Linked DNA regions of Homo sapiens: region 2 is linked to region 1. Evidence: promoter capture Hi-C in 16 types of primary human blood cells and fetal thymus (Javierre and others, 2016). All regions are on one chromosome and are shown on one strand. Each heading gives the region's core, a stretch centred on a gene start or on the middle of the fragment in contact. The rest is flanking DNA. Distances are from core to core; before and after follow the strand shown. Region 1 holds the start of PRKG1-AS1 (PRKG1 antisense RNA 1). Region 2 overlaps LOC124902426 (a long non-coding RNA gene).

The links. Contacts are between HindIII fragments. The CHiCAGO score rates a contact against its expected background, and 5 or more counts as called.
Region 2: a fragment that was not itself captured here is called in contact with the fragment with the promoter of PRKG1-AS1 in region 1 in 2 of 17 cell types (endothelial precursors and M2 macrophages); the score reaches 6.3 in endothelial precursors.

Annotation. Positions count from the first base shown.
Region 1 is chr10:52,310,839-52,317,588 of GRCh38, reverse strand. PRKG1-AS1 (PRKG1 antisense RNA 1) reads left to right here and starts at 3,461. Exons shown (of 6, transcript NR_038277.1): 1 at 3,461-3,955; 2 at 4,104-4,191. DKK1 (dickkopf Wnt signaling pathway inhibitor 1) reads right to left here and starts at 3,308. Exons shown (of 4, transcript NM_012242.4): 1 at 2,912-3,308; 2 at 2,504-2,666; 3 at 1,154-1,294; 4 at 1-1,035. The coding sequence starts at 3,154. The coding sequence ends at 782. The HindIII fragment of the contact is 4,208 bases long and covers 1,233-5,440 here.
Region 2 is chr10:52,546,022-52,552,771 of GRCh38, reverse strand. All of the region lies in intron 1 of LOC124902426 (a long non-coding RNA gene), which reads right to left. Among named protein-coding and RNA genes, the nearest start is that of LNCAROD, 79 kb to the right of the region's middle. The HindIII fragment of the contact is 1,620 bases long and covers 2,143-3,762 here.

The sequences.
Region 1 (6,750 bases), core at 2,212-4,711:
GATCATTTGAGTTTATCAATGCAGAACACGTCTTTCTTTAAAGTTATTCTAGAGCTGATCAATATTGTCTTATATTTAGACACTGTCTTTTCTCTGATCATCTTTAAACATATCACACTTCCGTTCTTGTAGAACACACACATACGTACACACACACAAACCTCTAAGATCACAATCCCAAAATGTATGTCTACTTATAACATTTCATGATATTAAATGTTAAATTTTATTTCAAAAACTATCACAGCCTAAAGGGAAATATAATTTAAGCATTAAGATAGTACATTTCAGAAAATAAGCTAGTATTTTCATGTTACATTTTAGGTACCTATCATTTGTCATTCCAAGAGATCCTTGCGTTCTAGACTCTAGAATTAAATGGGGTAAAGGGTTATGCTTTTAAGAACTATAAGCTGAAATGATTTACTTCAGTTCAATATAGAATATTTGTCAGTCAAGATAACAATCAATGTGTACAAAAATTTACATAACAAGAGGAAAAATAGGCAGTGCAGCACCTTTAGAAAAATAATTAAAAGTTTCATTGCATTTACAGGTAAGTGCCACACTGAGAATTTACAATACAGTAATTTACTGCAATCACAGGGGAGTTCCATAAAGAAACAAAGCTCTTACACTCCAGGTTTTTGGAAGGTGTTATTGGAATGCTTAACTGAAACCACAGAACTTGTATATCCTTAGGATTGAGTTGATGAAGGTCATAAAAGGTTTTCATAGCATCTATTATATAAAAGGAGTTCACTGCATTTGGATAGCTGGTTTAGTGTCTCTGACAAGTGTGAAGCCTAGAAGAATTACTGGCTTGATGGTGATCTTTCTGTATCCGGCAAGACAGACCTTCTCCACAGTAACAACGCTGGAATATTTCTAGTCCATGAGAGCCTTTTCTCCTATGCTTGGTACACACTTGACCTTCTTTCAGGACAGGTTTACAGATCTTGGACCAGAAGTGTCTAGCACAACACAATCCTGAGGCACAGTCTGATGACCGGAGACAAACAGAACCTTCTTGTCCTACGAAGGAGAAGACAGTAGGAAAAAAGTACATAGTTACTGTTAAACCTGCATCGTTTCACTAAAATAATTCAAAAGACACTTCTGATGTGCTAAGAATGAGTCTTAACATCCTTACCTTTGGTGTGATACATTTTTGAAGACAAGGTGGTTCTTCTGGAATACCCATCCAAGGTGCTATGATCATTACCAAAGCTTTCAGTGATGGTTTCCTCAATTTCTCCTCGGAAATGATTTTGATCAGAAGACACACATATTCCTAAGGAAGCAGGAAATAGTGATTAACTTCAGGGTTGTAATGCATTACTGCTAACAGCTGTGACAGTGGCAGTCTGTTATGCCAGCATCAACTTGAGATACTTCATTGCAGTGACATCATTTTAAACACAAGCCAAACTTCCTCTTTACTGTTAATGCAAAACTCTCCAGATGGACAGAAGCACCAATGTGTATACTGTATACAGTCAGTCATAGGTAATATCCCCAGTATAGCCATTTAAAATACTTTCCCACCAACTGTGGTAGGGGCAAGTGAGATTTCTGCCCATTTTAATATTACCTTTGGGGTAAGAAAAAGAAACTCAGTCACTTTAAAAATGTTCTTAAAAATAACTTCTCTGCCCCTGGTGCTATATGGGTCCTACCAGACTAAGTTAAGCAAATGCAATTCCAGCTGCCTGGAACATTGCAATCTCACCGGCCAGTTACTTTACTGTGTAATTTCTATATTACAGAGATTTACTTAGTTCATCCTGGAGTACTGCTGGGTCCTAAGGAGGGTCGTCGCCCTGTTAGCTTATTTCTGGAGACCTCTTTAGCTGTCTAAATCCACCTTTTGAAAAATTAAAAGTTAGTGGATCTGTGGTTGGGGGGAGGAGTACTTATATTAAGGCAGCAGAGGGTAGAGGGAGGGGGAAGGATGGAGAAGTCAAGTTGTGAGGGTACCAAGATCTCTCTTAAAAATGGCCAATGCAGATAAATCAGTCCTCTGGCTGACAACAGTTTCAGCAAAAATCAGAAGGCGAGGCCAGTCTGGCAAAACTGTGAGAATCACAATAAGAAAAATGAAAAGGACAGCTGAACGCCAAAGCTGGTTTCTTTGATATCTGTATGATCCCATCGTCCTCCTCATCATCCCCCTTCTCAATTGACCTCAAGGTTCTCCCCAGACAAATTTTTATGGAAGAGTCCACTACGAGGTGAACCGTTGTATTGAATCATTGAGGGACACGGAGGAAGATAAGGACCTCAGAGACCTCCCAACTTCTCTCTTCTTCCCGATTAAACACTTGCAATGAAGATACTTCAGCGGAATCCTGCATGCTGAACACCCATTTGCAGGTGGCGCCGCAGTGTTCTCAGGGCGGAGATTTCTCCCCCCACCCCCCCCAACCCCCCGCCCCCGCCCAATTCATAGACGCTCAAAGGCTGGACAGTTTTAGTGTGAAAGGGAGCTTTCAGGACTCACCATTTTTGCAGTAATTCCCGGGGCAGCACATAGCGTGACGCATGCAGCGTTTTCGGCGCTTCCTGCAGGCGAGACAGATTTGCACGCCTGCGTCCCCTCCGCGGGTGGGACTAGCGCAGTACTCATCAGTGCCGCACTCCTCGTCCTCTGCGCACGGGTACGGCTGTGGGAAGGGTTCGGGGAGAGGGTGAGGCACCCAGACGTCCAGGTACCCGCCCTCTTGGACCCGGGCGCTGATCACAGTCCTTATCTGTCCACCTCTCCAAAACCTGTTACTGCCCACTGCTCCCAAATGCAGGGTTACCAAATGCTCCCTGAACCGCACACATTCAGCACGTTCTACTCCCTCGTCTCCAGATAGGACCCTTTCAAGGTCAGAGCATCCTCTGAGTGCCCGACCCCTCTCACCTGGTAGTTGTCAATGGTCTGGTACTTATTCCCGCCCGGGTACAGGATTCCCGGCGCGGCGCTGACTGCAGAGCCTGGGTGCCCCGCAGCGCCGCCCAGCGGTGGGGGCAGGTTCTTGATAGCGTTGGAATTGAGAACCGAGTTCAAGGTGGCGCTCACTCCCAGCAGAGGGTGGCCGCCGAGAGCCGCCGCTACCATCGCGACAAAGACCCGGGTAGCTCCCGCTGCGCCCAGAGCCATCATCTCAGAAGGACTCAAGAGGGAGAAAGAAAGAGAAAATGACCGTCACTTTGCAAGCCTGGGTCCCCACGAAACCGTGCCGGTTCGGCTGCAGAGTCAGGGTCCGGGAGCCCCCTGCGGTCCCAGAGTCCTGACTGCAGGGAGCACAGAGCTCTGCGCCGCCACCGCCACCGCGGCTGCCTTTATACCGCGGGCCCGGAGCATTCCGGCCCCTTGGGAGGGAGACAACAAAGCCGGGATGGGATTTCAAAGCGCTGGGAGGGGCTGGGAGGGGGTGTGTTTGTGTACATGAAGGGGGGCCTTTGACACTCTTCACCCCGCCCCTCCCTTGCTTAGTCGCTCGGCTGGCCCGGCTCACCTTCGGGGTGAAGGCTACCAGCGAGCGTTATAGCAGACGACTTTAATAAATGCAGGCGGCAGCAGGAACTCTGGGAACTTGGGTGCCCTTGCCTGGCAGTAAGGGTTGAATTATCCGGATCTGAAATACTTTACAGAGCCGAGGGGTGATAGGCTCTGCAAAAGCACTTTTTGCCCCTCTCCTTTATGCCAATACTCGCTGACTGTGCACACAAGTCATATTCAGTATTAAATACAAACCGGTCTGTAATTCAATGGCTCTAGCAAGACGCCTCTGAGAGGGCCAGGTGGCGGGTGCAAGTTGCTCATTAACCCTTTAGAGTCGCAGTTTGCAGATCTGAGTTAGATCCCCGGCTTTGAGGTCCTTCAGTTGCCCTCCTCCCCCACCTCCCCCCGCCACTGCGAGAAAAATGTGCAAAGAGAAGGAAATTTGCACATCAAACGAGGGTAAGAAGGAAGAAGAGCTAATTCTCTTTTGATGGGAAGTTTAGAGAGGGAGGCGAGAGACTGGCGTTTAGAAATTAGATCAGGGGTGGAGGGAAGAGGGAAATGACCATCCGATAATCAAACCATTTAATGTTGTTCTTTGAATCAGGGCAATCGCGGCGGTAGATGAACTTGATTAGGCAGACGCGTGAGATCAAAGTGGCCGGGACCAAAGCGGACAGGGTCCAACGTGCCAGGTCAGTCGCCTTTCCCCGGTTCTCCCTTCTCAGTGGTGGGCTAATGTGGAGAAATAAGAAACCCTTAGGGCTTAGCGCCTGACTTCCTCATTAGTATATCACATCGCAACGCTTCCGAATGCAGGGTTTGCTCCCAAGTCTTACCTTGCACGGGACCACGCAATACCCTTTCTAGGGAGAAAAGAAACAACCTTGAGGAGAAGAAGAGCTGAAAGTGAATTAGAAAGTGAATTTGACGTCATTGAAATTGGTGTGTGGATATAATAAAGTAAGGCTGGTGTATAAGAATGATGTCATGCTTATAAATGGGAAATGATCTATTTAATTCAACAAAAACTTATTGGAAGCCTAGAGCCCTGGCATTGGGCTGCCCTCTGGGTTGTTACCTTATTTTTATTTTTTAAATTTTTTGGTGAGATGGGTGGTGGGGGGAGGGGCACAGTGAATACAAATATTTATGAGACACAGCTCTCATTTTAAATAATAAAGTTCTCTTTATTCTAATTACAGTAATAATAAAAGATGTAGTAACAATAAAATTATAGCAATAAATATAAAAGCATACATAATTCTTTTAAAAACAGGTTGATATTATAAGTGTCAGAAAATAAGCAACTGTTTTGTGAGTTTGGAAAAGGGAGAGATGATTGAATAATCACTATTGAATTAAAAAAGAGTAAGATATATTTATTTTGTCTTCCTCTAAGCTGTATAGATTTAGGCTGTCTATAATGACTCCACATGCTGACCTACTATAGTCAGAACTGGGGCCACCACCAAGTAAAGCCAGTGACAATCTTAAAGTAAAAAAATCCTAAAGTTTACTGGGAGAAGGAGTAATTAAAACACAATTTACTATGGTCTGTGTTCTAGTTCCTTCAGTTTCAAAGGTAATATTAAGAAGATCATCTAAACAATTCTTGAATGGTACCCTAGTTATATTAGTGTCCTTCCCATCCCAAATTCCATCTGTCCAGGAAATTATCCTGTCAGGAATCAATGCGTTAAGCACCTTCAGTGTACTAGGAAATCTGCAAGCTGTGTTAAGTTTGAATGACTTTGAAACGTAGAGAAAAATCCGCCTGCCAATCAGAAGGTTGAAAATGTTTCTTTTTAGTCCTATTAACCTGTTTAAATATTTTGAATCTAGAAATATATTTGTGCCACACTAAAGGCCAATCTCTTGCCTTTTTTTCTGAAGAGATAGTATATGATTAATACATTTAATGAACTTGGTTCATTAAAAGCTTGGCTTCACAAAAAAAATCCATTGCCTGGGGCAAAAGAAGAGAAAGTGGAACAATTTAATCAACAAAAGGAAAATTCTGTTATAACAAAGAAGCTTGTTGCATAAATTCAACCTTGATCTCTGAACACATATCATTTGTCTATTATGTTTCAATATTCACTGAGTCTGGACAGAATCTGTGGTATTGAGCTAGGAGAGCTAAACCAAGCATAGAGTTTCAAGAATGGGCTAGCTTCTACCTCCTTCCTCAGCTTTCACATTGCTCCTGAAGTTGTCATGAGTTTAAAACTAATAATGAGTTGGTCAATATCTGAGTTCCTACTTTGTGCTAAGCATTATACATGATATTGTGTGATAAAAGATGAGTTCACATATAATCTACCTTCAAATCATTTAGTGGGCAGAGGAGAGGTAACCTCACAAATTATTCAGGGGAGAAATTACATGGGTGGTCCTCAGAGAGGGCTAAGTACATAGCAAATCAAACCTTTGTTCCAAATGAGGAAATTTATTTTTTCAGTACTTTTTCTCCATTTGAAAATCCTTTCCAGGATGTGGTTTGTTCATTGGCAACAAGAGTGCAAGGTAGATAAAGAGGTATAGTAAAACTCATTGTTCCATCAGCAGCCAGTTAATATTCGGTGAGTATCCATTATTGGGAGCATATCTCACAATATGAAAGGCAGGCTTCTTGTCCTCAGCTTTCAGTCTGTGACTAGTTGGGGAAATACAACATACTTACATGGGGCTGGGGGTAAAAATTTTTCCAACATCGATTATATTTTGGCAGATACTAGGTCATGGAGAGCAAGAAAAATGTGCAGGAACTGTGACCAACATGTCTTAGGAAGGAGAGAGGGTTCTGGTGATTGTCTGAGTCTCTCTTACAGCTGGGTGACAGAGGAGGTGGGAGCCAGAGTAGATGAATTTAGTTTATTAAACTGAGTTTATTTAGTCCTGTAGGGAACCCTGCCTCCTATTCAGTCTGGTATAAATATGATCATAATTAATGTAACAAATTTAATATTTTGTATTATATTTTTGAATAGGTGAAATATGCTTATCAGCGTGGAATTGAACCTCATAACTCGGGAACAGCATGCTAACACATGTCTTCTTTATATTTTAAGTGCTGGATGCCATGCATAGAATATTTCTCAACCTTTTCATCCATGAGGGAGACAGACAAATATACTCCAAAACACTCCATGCTATTCACCAACTATTTTTCCATCTCTATTATTTGTGACTGCTGATTTTTTTTATTTTATATATTTTTATATATTTTTTGAGACAGGATCTCATTCTGT
Region 2 (6,750 bases), core at 1,703-4,202, 240 kb before region 1:
AAAATGCTATTCAACAGTAAATTTCAACAACTTAAGAAATAATGTAAATAATGGAACTTAATTAAATGAAAAAGCTTCTGCACAGCAAAAGAAATAATCAACAGAGTAACAGACAACTGACAGAATGGCAGAAAATATTTGCAAACTATGCTTCTGACAAAGAACTAATATCCAGAATCTCCAAGGAATTCATACAACTCAACAAGAAGAAAACAAACAACTCCATTAAAAAGTGGGCAAAAGGCATGAACAGGCATTTCTCAAAAGAAGACATACATGCAGCCAACAATCATATGAAAATGTACTCAACACCACTAATCATCAGAGAAATGCAAATCAAAACCACAATGAGATACCATCTCACAGCAGTCAGAATGGCTACTATTAAAAGTAAAAAAAAAAAAAAAATTGTTGGAGACGATGCAGGGAAAAGAGAATATTTATATGCTCCTGGTGGGAATGCAAATAAATACAACCTCTATGAAAAAACAGTAAGGAGATTTCTTAAAGAGCTAAAAAAAAAAAACTACAATTCAATCCAACAATCCTACTACTAAGTATCTACTCAAAGGAAAAGAAATTGTCATATCAAACAGATACCTGCACTCATATTTATTGCATAACTATTCACAATAGTAAAGTTATAGAATCAACCTAAGTGTCCATTAATGGATGATTGGATAAAGGAAATGTTATATATATATATATATATTACATAGCCATAAAAAGGTGAAATCATGTCTTTTACCACAACATGGATAGAGCTTGAGGCCATTATCGTAGGTGAAATAACTCAGAAACAAAAAAATCAAATACCACATATTCTCATTAATAAGTGGGAACTAAACAATGGGTACCCACAGACATAGAGGGATAATAGACATTGGACACTCCATAAGGGAGGAGGGTAGGAGACTCCATAAGGGAGGAGGGCGGGAGACTGGTGATGGTTGAAAAATTCCTATTGGTACAATGTTCACAATTCAGGTGAGGGGTACACTATCAGCCCAGACTTTACCACTATGCAATATATCAATGTACAAAAATTGCACTGTACCCCCTAAATCTATACAAATAACAAAAATTTTAAAAAGAAAAAAAGTTTAAAATGCCATAAGAAAGAAATAATCTAAATAAAAACTTCAGGAATGGAGGAGCTGACTTTGAAACCTGCTTAAACAGACTATAAAGACTATTTTTTTTATATTTAGTTTTTGGAACTGCTTTGAGAGAATAGATATATACTATTTTAATTTTTTTATATAAAATCCTTCTTACCAAGAGAAAAAAGAACAAGACTTGATCAGGCTGAAATATTTGATGAAGAACATTTTAAAATAAGTATAAATTTAAGAAACATCATGGAAAAAAACTTGCAAGTGTACTCTTTTTTTTCTTTAAAAGAACACAAAATCAGCAACAGTGAAATTCTGGGAAGACCCTGGAACCAGATAAAACAATCTTATTAAACATTGAATCATGGTTAAAAAGCAGTTACCCAGCAACCAAAGACCTCATCATTTCCTCCTAATCTTTCACAGTGAATTTTTTAACAACCTCATAAAACTAGGACAGACTGAAACATCATGGAAAGAGGTGGGAAATAAAGAAGGCTCCAGGAAGGGAAAACTGAGTATTATTTCACTGAAAATTTCATCCAGATCCTTGCACAAGGTCAATCAATTCAGGCTACAAACACATGACATATTCTTATACTTCAATCATCTTAATAGCAGGCAATAGGAGACAAACAAATGACACACAAGCTTTAAAGTCTACAATTAACAACAGAGGATCACGAAATGCTGGGACAGGATTTCTGAGACTCCATTCTCTTCATTTAACAGATGAGCAAACCGATCCAGGAAGGAGAAGTGGCAGGCCTACAGCCCGCTATCTATGAAGTAGGCACCTGGGTCTCACTCCTGGGTCACTGTTCTTTCTAGCAACCATTCTGTCTCATATGGGATACCGGTGTTTTCAAATAGCAACAAATGTCATTAAGTAGTTACTAACTATTCAAATTTGGCTATTGATATCAGTAACTCTGCTTTTCCTAAGAGATACAAAAATTTAATAACATTCCAGCGAAAGGCAGCTTCCGCTTTAAAGTAGTTCTAGACTATGTTTATTACTGAAGCTTTATAAGTCACTTTTTATTGATGACCACAAACATGTTGTCCACTGCTTTCAGGTCAATTTGACAATAATTCCTCAGTGTAAATACCCTGGCAATCAAAATTGGAAGCACATGTGACTTGTCTTCAGTGTGAATACCTGTATAGGAAATCAAACATAGTTAAGTAAGGGGATGTAGAGCTCCACCAATTTCTAGGATTGCCATGCCCATCAAAATATTGTCCCACCAACAAAATCACTGTGTGTATAAAATACCACCAAGTAACTATCTTGGTTAGTTTGGGCTGCCATAATGAAATGCCATAGACTAGGTGAGTTAAACAACAAATATTTATTTCTCACAGCTCTGAAGTCTAGAAGTCTGAGATCAGGGTACCATCATGGTCAGTTTCTTGGTGAGGGGCATCTTCCTGGTTATGCCCTTACATGGCCTTCCTTGGTGCATGCACTAAGAGAGAGATCTCAAGTCTCTTCTTTTGTTCATAGAGGTATTAATCCCATTGTGGAGACCCCATCCTCATGAACTCATCTAAACCTAATTACTTCCCAAAGGCCCCACCTCCTAAAACCATCAGACTTCCCAAAGGCCCCACCTCCTAATACCATCAGATTGAGGATTAATACCATGTGGATTTGGGGGAAGGGGGACACAAATATTTAGTCCATAGAAGTAACCTACTTATCTTATAATTTATTTTAAAAATCCTTAGGATTAAATTGACATGAATAATTTTTATGAACACTAGAATAATCTCTCCATTTTCAATTAATTAAACTTGCTAGGAGATCCTCCTGAGTAAAAAGTGGTTTGGTATATAGAAAAGAAGAAAAAAATGTTCTAAGCATGGGATATGATTTAAGAGAAATCTTGAAGTTGGAAGAGGGCAGGACAAAATATCATTACTCTATACCTGGGATTGTGCTAAATGCTTTTTATGGATTATTTAATTGTAATTAAAACCCCTATAAAATAGATTCTTTTATTACCACTATTTTACAGTGAGGAAATTTAAGATTGGAAAATTTGAATCACACGCCTAAGGTAAATCTAACAATTAGCAGAGCAAGGACTTATAGCCAAACCTTTGGATTCCAGAATAAGGCTTTTAAACACCACACTCTACAGCGTCTCTCAGATTACCATGATGAAAAAAATTTCATCTTGAGACTTTGTAATAAGGTTTTTGAAAAGATTAGCTTCATATATGTTTTAACTCAGTATTCAACATGCTGGGTTTACATTTCAAAAAATTTTAATGAACAATAAATACATTTATAAAGTTAATAATTCAATTCATCATGATTTCCTGAAGACTTTTTTTTTTTATTTCCTGAAGACTTTTAAAGATGCTATTGAATCTTTAACAATTAAGTGAGTACCAAGGGAAGAGAACATATGTTTCTTTTAGCTCTCATTTATTAATATGGCCCATTTAGGACCTGACATAGTATAAAGTTCAGCTTACATATACCTATCAGTTAATAAAAATCTGCAATGGGAAAACTATTTAACTATTTAACTAAATCAAGAGCATAGAATTATCTTAGACAGATAACAGAATTTAATGTAAATCCCGAATTTCTGTGTGTTATCTTGAATTTCATTTTGAATTGAAGAAAGCTTAAATGTGAAAAAATAAGAATGCCGTTTTTTAAATCTTTTATGAAAATATTCAATCTGCAAATACAATTTTGCCATATTCTACCTATGTACATAAATAACAATCAGGAGCACTGAAAAACAAAAAAGTATACACCAATCATTTTGAGAAGTACAGAGCAAAAGAGAAATCAGCTACCAAGTCATGAAAAGACATGGAGGAACCTTAAATGCTTATTACTGAGTGAAATAAACCAGTCTGAAAAGGCTACGATTACTGTATGGTTTTAAATATATGACATTATGGATAAAGCAAAACTATGGATCCAGTAAAAAGATCAGTGGTTGCCAGTGGATGGGAGAGAGATGGATGAATAGACAGGAATAAGGATTTTTAGGATAATAAAACTATTTATATAATATTATAATGATGTACACATGATATATGTATCCAAACTCATGGAATGAACCCGCGAGTGAACCCCAGTGTAAACTATGGACTTTGGAAGATAATGATATGCTAATGTAAGTTTATGAATTGTAAAAAATACAACATCTGGTGAGAGATGTTAATGGGAGAAACTATGTATGTGTGGAGGCAGGGAGTATATGAAAAAGTCTCTGTGCCTTCTGCTCAATATTGCTGTAAACCTAAAACTGCGCTAAAAATAAAGTTTATTTTAATGCGTTGGAAACTTTATTTTTTTAGAAATAAATTAAAGGTGAGAATCGTATAACACAATTTTTAGTATATATGAGCCAATTATGTTCAGTTTCTCAGAAAGAAAGCCTCGACAAGTAGTCATTCAAAAACATAATATTGTACACATCTTTCTTTTTTCTGCCTATATTGTAGCACCTCATAACAATCCCCCTGACAAACTAAAAAATTAAAAAATCTCAATTGTCTTGTCTTAGAGCAGCCACAACCTTAAAAAGGTGGCAAATTGAGCTTATTTTCTATTCACACCTAAAATGTTTTCACTGATATCTGGAATACACTCCTCATTCGCTGAAAATCTTAGCTCCTAGCTTACTGCACCTCTCCCGGGTATTACTTCCATTTAATTTTTGGTAACTGCTATGGTTTGGATATCTGAACCTTCCAAATCTCATGTTGAAATTTGATGCACTGTGTTGGAGATGGGGCCTAGTGGGAGGTGTTCGAATCATGGGAGCAGATCCCTCATGAATGTTTTGGTGCTGTTCTCACAATAGTGAGTTCTTGCTCTGTTAGTTTCCAGGAGATGTGACTGGTAAAAGGAGTGGGGCACTTCCCTCCTCTATCTCTTCCTTCCTCTTTTGCCACATGATGTCTGTTCTCCTAGAACTTCCACCATGAGTGGAAGCAGCTTGAAACCTTCACCAGAAGCAGATGCTGGCACTAGGTTTCCTGTACAGCCAACAGAAGTGTGAGCCAAATAAACCTCTTTTCTTTATAAATTACTCTGGCTCAGATACTCCTTTGCAGTAACACAAATAGACTAGGACAATGGCTTTCACATAGAGCTGTTCCTCAATATGCAAGAAGGATTGGTTCCAGGATCTTCCTGGAATACCAAAATCTGCAGATACTCAAGTCCCTTATATAAAATGACATGGTATTTGCAGATAGCCTATGAACATCCTTCAATATAATTTAAATCATCTTTAGATTACTGCAAGATAAAGCCTGTATAAATAGTTGTTATACCACACTGTCTAGAAAATAATTACAAGAAAAATTCTCTACATGTTTAGCACTGATGCATTCTTTTCTGAATATTTCCTATCTGTGGTTGGTTGAATCCACAGGTGCAAGACCCATGGGTATGGAGGGCTGACGGTGAACCTAGATGATTCAACTGAAAGCCTAGTCTCTCAGTTCCCTGACTGCCTCACTTCCAGTGATCCTTCATGGTTGTATACCTGCCCTTGTCTTTACCAATTACTGAAAATTCTCCAGAATCTCATTTTCAAGTGTCTTACTGTCCAACTCCAACTTTCTACCCGTCCAGGGTACTCCATCTAGTACTGTAACTTCACTGATCCTTCTGCACCATTGGTGCCTAAAATCTGATACTATCACTTGTCCATTAAATTTTATGATTAATAATTATCATCTCTTCTTTGCATTTGTCTCAACTTCCTTCTCTATCTTTGGAAGATTTTTACATATTGGGCAAAATCCCACCTAGGGATACATTATTCAGTTGTTGTTCCCAGTGCTCATGCAATGGAATATGGCTGGAGAAAAACACAAACCTCGGTGGCTGACGCCTGTAATCCCAGCACTTTGGGAGGCCGAGGCGGGTGGATCACGAGGTCAGGAGATTGAGACCATCGTGACTAACACGGTGAAACCCCACCTCTACTAAAAATACAAAAAAATAGCCGGGCGTGGTGGTGGGAGCCTGTAGTCCCAGCTACTAGGGAGGCTGAGGCAGGAGAAGGGCGTGAACCCGGGAGGCGGCGCTTGTAGTGAGCGGAGATCGCGCCACTGCACTCCAGTCTGGGCGACAGAGCGAGACTCTGTCTCAAAAAAAAAAAAAAAAAAGAAAAAAAAAGAAAAACACAAACTTGCTGAATACTGAAACATTAATGACTACAAATCCCAAGATGCCTCTTAAGCCAAGATGCCTGGTAACCATAATTTATTTCCCTACTCTATTCACATTTCTAGTTTCTAGATAACTATTTCAAACCTTCTCATATCAGTAATACTTTGTTTTCCATTCTTGCCCTCAACTCACAACTTATTTTCCTAATAAAACAGACGCATTCAGAAAGACAACTTCCACATGTTTCCACATCTAAAACTACCCATTTTCCAGCATCAGTACTCATATATCCTGCCTTCTTGCCTACTGTCCCTGGATAGAATAACAGATCACACTCCTATCTAAAGCTGGTTCTTCTGCTTGTGCTCTAGACCCCATCTGCTTTCTCAAATACGTCACATCACTCTATCTTTCCTCCTCTCTCCTCTCCTTTTCCCTTTCTCTCACTCCCACTCCTCTATCCTTTCCTGG